2 separate regions of the Homo sapiens genome follow, and region 1 is linked to region 2. The links are contacts of gene promoters, found by promoter capture Hi-C in human tissues and cell types (Jung and others, 2019). All regions are on one chromosome and are shown on one strand. Each heading gives the region's core, a stretch centred on a gene start or on the middle of the fragment in contact. The rest is flanking DNA. Distances are from core to core; before and after follow the strand shown.

Evidence for each region. Contacts are between HindIII fragments. The study calls those that stand out against the background at their distance.
Region 1: a contact is called between a fragment that was not itself captured here and the fragment with the promoter of ADAT1 in region 2, in 1 of the 25 tissues and cell types used here (spleen).

What each region holds. Positions count from the first base shown.
Region 1 is chr16:75,037,250-75,040,679 of GRCh38, reverse strand. The region is part of intron 1 of ZNRF1 (zinc and ring finger 1); the gene reads right to left. Among named protein-coding and RNA genes, the nearest start is that of ZNRF1, 40 kb to the right of the region's middle. The HindIII fragment of the contact is 4,304 bases long and covers 20-3,430 here.
Region 2 is chr16:75,621,978-75,625,526 of GRCh38, reverse strand. ADAT1 (adenosine deaminase tRNA specific 1) reads left to right here and starts at 2,246. Exons shown (of 10, transcript NM_001324445.2): 1 at 2,246-3,124. RefSeq lists enhancers at 1,933-2,452, 2,332-2,571, 2,453-2,972, 2,973-3,492, 3,493-3,549. The HindIII fragment of the contact is 9,595 bases long and covers 1-3,549 here.

The DNA.
Region 1 (3,430 bases), core at 922-3,421, 580 kb after region 2:
AGCCGAGATTGCGCCACTGCACTCCAGCCTGGGCAACAAGAGCAAAACTCTGTCTCAAAAAAAAAAAAAAAAAAAAAAAAACCCACAAAAAACAAAAACAAAAACATGGTGAGTGAAGGACACCAAACAGAAAATAATACATACTGTATGATTTCATTTATATGAAATTCCCAGAAAAGGCAAATCTAGAGAGATAGCAGTTGCCCGGTGGGGAGCAGAGATTGACTAAAAACAGGCATAGGAACTTTCTGAAGTGGCCCTTTCAGATGTGGTGGTTCACATCCGTAATCCCAGCACTTTGGGAGGACAAAGTGAGAGGATTGCTTGAGCCCAAGAGTTTGAGGCTGCAGTGAGCTACAGTCTCACTACTGTACTCCAGCCTAGGTGGCAGAGTGACGCCCTTGTTTTAAAACAATAAAAATAAAAAAAGGACTTTTTGAGAGATGGAAGTGTTATAAAATTGGATTTTAAGCCATGCGTGGTGGTGCGCGCCTGCAGTGCCAGCTACGTGGAAGGCTGAGGAAGGAGGATCCCTTGAGCCTAGAAGGTCAAGGCTGCGGTGAGCTATGACCATGCCACTGTACTGTAGCCTGAGTGACAGAGTAAGACTCAAAAAAAAAAAAAAAAAAAAAAAAAAGAAAGAAAAGAAAGAAACAAAAGATTTTAGTGATGGTTTCATAACTATATATTTACTAAATCTCATTGTACATTTATAATGTATGAATATTATGGTATGTCAACTATACCTCAGTTTCAAAACAGTAACAACCAATATCCCACAACATCTGGAGGATCCCTAACTGCAGGTTCCTATATACAGTGAAAATCTTTTGGGATACTTTCTGGTAGAACTGTAGTTTTCTGGCAAAGAACTATGAAAGGGATTTCTCTATTAACAGTGCTTCTTCAACAACAGCACACGTAAGAATCACCTGGAACACCTGTTGACAGACCAACCCCTCTCTTCCCACTGGATTCAGTAGGTCTGGGGTGGGGCCCATAAATCTGCATTCCTAAAAGCTCCAGGACCAGTCATTAAAAACAGAGATTTCAAAGTCTCACCAGAGATGTATTATATCCAAATCTCTAACAAAGGGGAACCTGGGAATCTGTACCTCTTACAAGTATCAGGGAGAATCTTATGATTGATCTCATGGTTTAGTACTCCATGAGCTACAACACTCTCGTATACCATTAACTCCAAGGATTTTTATAAGTAGTTTCAAGAGTAAAATCTGTGTGTTCCTGGGTTGAAAATGACCAAGTAAATTATCTGTATTTTAAGTGGTTCTAAAGTCTTTAGGGTTCTGCCTTTGGCCTCCCTAAATAAAGCAATTTGCAGGAAAGCAACTTATATTTATTCACAGTATTCTAAATATGCTTCCACATTAAAAAAAAAAGTTTTCCAAACAAATTAAAAATAATAAATAAAACAGAAAGTTTTTGCCATTAAAAACATTTAGGCCACTTTTCAAGTTTAGTCTAATTTTAAATCTGTTCATTTCAAAACCACATTTTTTCTATATTTTTAACAGGGGTATGTAATTGTTAGATCTATAGGAACTATTAATTCTGCACAATTCTGATAGGCACTGAGAACAGCAGCAACAGTGCCATTTTCAATGGTTCAATTCAAGGATTTATCACATACCTACTGGAATGTAATGCTGTGCTTAACACAGAGATTAAACACAGAAGAAGATATGGTTCTTACCAGGAATTCACCAGTGATTATAAAACAATAGTACTCAACATCACTGTATACTGGAGCAGATGGGGAAATTTTACAGAAGTAGGACTGTGTCCTAGAAAAAAAAAATAACAGCACTTAAATTATTTTCAATTTCTCTTATCAGTATGGCTCAAAGGAGTGGGAGGACTCATCATCTTGCACACTGGAATGCCATGTTGTATGAAACAGAAAGAGCCAGACTGCAGATCGTGCTTAGAAGAACACACACACAGGACTTCCTGGAGAGCATCTTACTGTTTCTTCAGAGATTCTTATTTAACTGGCTTACAGTGGGGCTCAAGCTCCCCAAGGAAAGTGTTCTGTGGTAAATTATGTTTCTAAAGATAGTTGCAACAATAGTGTCCATCTTACCAGCTCTTCAGCAATGTCCCCTCTCCTGCCCTTCCCCTTGTCACAATGCCAAACCAAATTCTTGTTTTGACCAACGGAAGGTGGAGAAAGCCACATCATGTAACTTCCAAGGCTAGTAGGCCCTAGGAGAATTACAGCTTCTGCCTTTGCTGCCTGGTATGCTCACTTTTGGAATTTAGCTTCCAAATAACAAAAGCCAAGCTAGTCACAACTAGGGAGACAGCCACAGCGAGAGAGAGAAGGCTTTGCCTCCTCATCATGCCCACCAACTTGCCAGATGTGTGAATGAAGCCATCTTAGCCATTCCAGTCACTGACTACAATGTCATGAGACACCCCAGCTGTTAGTCACATAGAGAAGAACCATCCAGCTGAGCCCTGCCTGAATTCCCAAGTCATAGAATTATGATCAAATATAAAATAGATGTTGTTTTAAGCCATTAAGTTTTGAGGTAGGTTTTGTTGCCTAACAACAGACAACAAAAATAGGCTTCAAGTCTGCCCTAGAATATTCTTCTAGGTAAATGATATGCAATCATAGTCAACATATATGAACTTGGTCACTACATCTCAGGAATAAGAGAAGCTTGAAATCTAGCTACCAGAAGGAAGAAAATAAGTGTTCACAAGCAAGATCCAATCCACTTCCTCATCATAGACTTTTCCACATTTGTCAGCAAAAGGTTTTGTTGCTTCCCAAATTTTGTATTAGGAAAACAGGTTATATGAGTGCTTTAACTCCTTTCTAAAGGCCATGCTAACTAAAATCAGTGGTTAGTGAGATGTTTTCAGCTCAGTACTCTCCTGCCTCTAAGCACATTCTATTCATAGATTTGGGGTCCAGAAACCATTTTTTACAATGTTAAAGGAGATGGAAGAAAAGGTGAATTGGAGAGAAGGTCTGGGGTGGGGGAGATCTACCCACAAACAAGAAGAGTGGGCCAGGAATGCTGGCTCATGCCTGTAATCGCAGCACTTTGGGAGGCCTAGGTGGCAGATCACCTGAGGTCAGGAGTTCCAGACCAGCGTGGTCAACATGGTGAAACCCCGTCTATACTAAAAATACAAAAAATTAACCAGGCATGGTGGTGCACACTTGTAATCCCAGCTACTTGGGAGGCTGAGGCATGATAATCGCTTGAACCCAGGAGGCAGAGACTAGATTGCGCCACTGTCCTCCATCCTGGGTGACAGAGGGAGACTGTGTCTCCAAAAACAAAACAAAACAAAACAAAAAAACAAAAGAGTGAAGACCAAGTGACATTAAAACTGAGTACTTCCCGGCTGCCTTGTTTAATAAATGAGGCAAAAGACTGGCATTGCACAC
Region 2 (3,549 bases), core at 997-3,496:
AGACTGACCAACAGGGTGAAACCCCGTCTCTACTAAAAATACAAAAATCAGCCGGGTGTTGTGGCATGTGCCTGTAATCCCAGCTACTGGGGAGGCTGAGGTAGAATTGCTTGCCCCTGGGAGGCGGAGGTTGCAGTGAGCCGAGATTGTGCCACTGCGTTACAGCCTGGGTAGGAGAGTGAGACTCCATCTCAAAAAAAAAAAAAGTACCGAGAAGGCATTCACTGAAGTATTATTTAAGCAGTAAATGTGTAGTAGTCACAAATCTGACACCAGATTTGCAGTTTGAAAAGATTAGTCTTGCTGCTCTGTGGAAAATGAATTGGAGTTAAGCAAGAAAAGGTGGAAATTCAGAGATGAGTGTAGCAATCCAAGAGGAATACGATAGTGGCTTTTACTAGCGTATTGGCATGCAAGTGGAGAGAAATGGATGGATTCAAGAGATAGGAAGTAAGATCAACAGGACTTGGTAATGGATTGCACTAAGGGGATTAAGGGAAGGGAGATAACAAGGAACATGACTCACTTTTTAGTTACGCAACTAGATTGCTAGTAATACCAATCCCTGAGATAAAGAACCCTAGAAGAAGGTCTTTGATACCCCTTACCCCCACTGGAATATTTCTTAAAAGACAGAAGAGGCAGTCACTTGCAGATTAAAGATATTGGAGAGGAATGAGGAGCAAAGTCTTTGGCCTTGGAGGAGGGCCATGTCCCATTTCCTTTGAACTAGAGAGAAGGATGGGGTTGAGCAAGTTGCATAAATTTTTGAGGGGTAACAAAGAAAAATGAATTCTTTCATTTTTAGTAATAGAGCATTCAGTTACTGGGTGACAAAGGCCCCTGAAGTATCCAGGCAGCTATATTACTTATTCCCGGCAATCCAAAGGTTTTTAGACCTGTTCTGCCCACTACACTGTAGTAGTACTGTACTACAGTAGCCAGTAGCCACATGTGACTATCCAGCATCTGAAATGTGGCTGATCCAAATTGGGATGTATTCTAAGTGTAACACACACCAGATTTCTTAAACTTCGCATTAAAAACAGAACAGAACATAAGTATTTTTTAAAATATTGAGACTCGGCAGCCAGGTGCGGTGGCTCACGCCTGTAATCCAGCACTTTGGGAGGCCGAGGCGGGCAGATCACGAGGTCAGGAGATCGAGACCATCCTGGCTAACATGGTGAAACCCCGTATCTACTAAAAATACAAAAATTAGCCTGACGTGGTGGCAGGCACCTGTAGTCCCAGCTACTCGCGAGGCTGAGGCAGGAGAATGGCGTGAACCTGGGAGGCGGAGCTTGCAGTGAGCAGAGATTGCGCCACTGCACTCCAGCCTGGGTGACAGAGCGAGACTCCGTCTCAAAAAAAAAAAAAAAAAAAAAAAAAATATATATATATATATATATGAGACAGACAGACCGACCCCGGGCATCGTGACTCACGCCTGTAATCCCAGCACTCTGGGAGGTTGAGGCGGGCGGATCACTTGAGGTCAGGAGTTCGAGACCAGCCTGGTAACATGGCGAAACCCCGTCTCTACTAAAAATAACAAAAATGAGCCGGGTGTGATGGCGGGCGCCTGTAATCCCAGCTACTTGGGAGGCTGAGGCAGGAGAATCGCTTGAAGCCAGGAGACGGAGGTTGCAGTGCGCCGAAATTGCGCCGCTTCCAGCCTGGGCGACAAAGCGAGACTCCATCTCAAAAAATTTTTTGATTATATGTTGAAATAATACTATTTGGGATGTATGGGTTAAATAAAATATATATGATTGTTTCTATTTTGACTTTTAATGAGGCTACTGGAAATTTTTAAATTACGTATATGGTTCGAATTATATATCTATTGGACAGTGATGTTACAGATAGAAATACAGCATAGTCAGGAGAATCGCTTGAACCGGGAGGCGAAGGTTGCAGTGAGCCGAGATCGCGCCTCTACACTCCAGCCTGAGCAACAGAGCAAGACTCCGTCTCAAAAAAAAAAAAGAAAAAGAAAAAAATTCAGCCGAGTGCTGCAAGATACGTCATTCTAGTTGAAGGAATATCTAAGCCAACAAGCGGCTCCCATCATCCGGTTTCACGCCTCTCTAAGACGCAGCCAGGGCTGCGGGACTTGAAGCGCGGGAATCTCGGCCCTGGCACCGACTCCCCGGAAAAACTACAGGGCCCGGCATGCACTGCGCGCCTCTGGGAGCGGGAGCCGAAAGGAACCGGCGCTTTGTGACGTCACGTCCGCCTTACCGGCGGATTAAGCTCGCTTTCTTCTAGGCGCGTTTCCTGAAGGTGGGAGGGGAGCGTCCGCGAGGCGCTGGGGCGACGGGGCAGGTTTATCCGGGCTAACTTTGCCGAGTCTGTTTTTGAGGGAAGAGGTTGTGAGGATCGTATCTTCCGGGACGCGTTTCACGTGGGAAGGCGCTCCACGCCTGGAACTGTCAGCAGCCGGCGCCTGAAGAGCTCCTGGCGCGGGGCCTCTGGCCTGGCAGCCGCAGGACCCAATGGATCAGGCGCTCACGCTGTTCTCACTGCATGGCTTCAGTGCCTTGCCTGGCACCTCCTATCCTGTAACTGGCCGACTCGGGGTCCCACCCAGGCTTCTCCAGCGGCCGGGAAGGGGCTCTGCTTCCGGAAGTGTTTAGGAAGGGAGCCAGCGTAAACCAGAGTCCCTTCCTCCAAGCATCGCTGAAGCCTTTTCTCCCCTGGCAGCCGACTTCCTTTTCTTTGGAAAGGACGTCAGTTTTTTTAGCTTGTTGAAACTGTTCAGAGATGCGGTCTTGTGGGCAAATAAATGCCTGTTTAGCTGAGCTGTTATTTTCAGCTAAGAAGTTCTTCAAGTTTTCAAGATCTAGGAGGGGGTGTAGGCTCGAATTATAATGGACCCAGTGTAGCAAAACATTTATTCATTTAAACAATTGTGCATGCTCATTCAGACGCACTACCTGAGTGAGATGATGCCGTTCTGGGCTGCTTCATCTTAAAGAGAGTCACTGTTTCTTCTGGCAACTTCTACCTGCCTTGCCTATCGAGGTTTGTGAATTGCACCTCTGGTTTAATTTCAGGTCGATGGCCAGGTGGTCTTCATAAACTATACTGCCTTGTGATGCCTCCCTAGAAATGAGAGGTGAGTCCCTTCCAAACGAGGATTCTAGGATCTCATGCTTTCTTTTCTTGACAAGGCTTGCCCTGGCCCTCTGACTTTCAAGTCACAGGGTCTCACTTCCTGCAGATTTTTGTTTTAAATCACTGTGGTCTGATTTACCAGTAGCATTCACTACAGTAGCGAGCCTGCACGTTGCGCTGCAGGGGATTCATAACAATACCATCTTTCAAAAGCTGCATGCACTGGAGCTCAGGAAAGCCTTTTTTGTTTTTTTGAGAGGGAGTCTCGCTCTGTCACCCAGCCTGGAGTGCAGTGGCACAATCTCGGCTCATTGCGACCTCCGCCTCCCGGGTTCAAGCGATTCTCCTGCCTCAGCCTCCCGAGTAGCTGGGACTACAGGCACGCGCCATCACGCCCGGCTAATTTTTTTGTATTTTCAGTAGAGA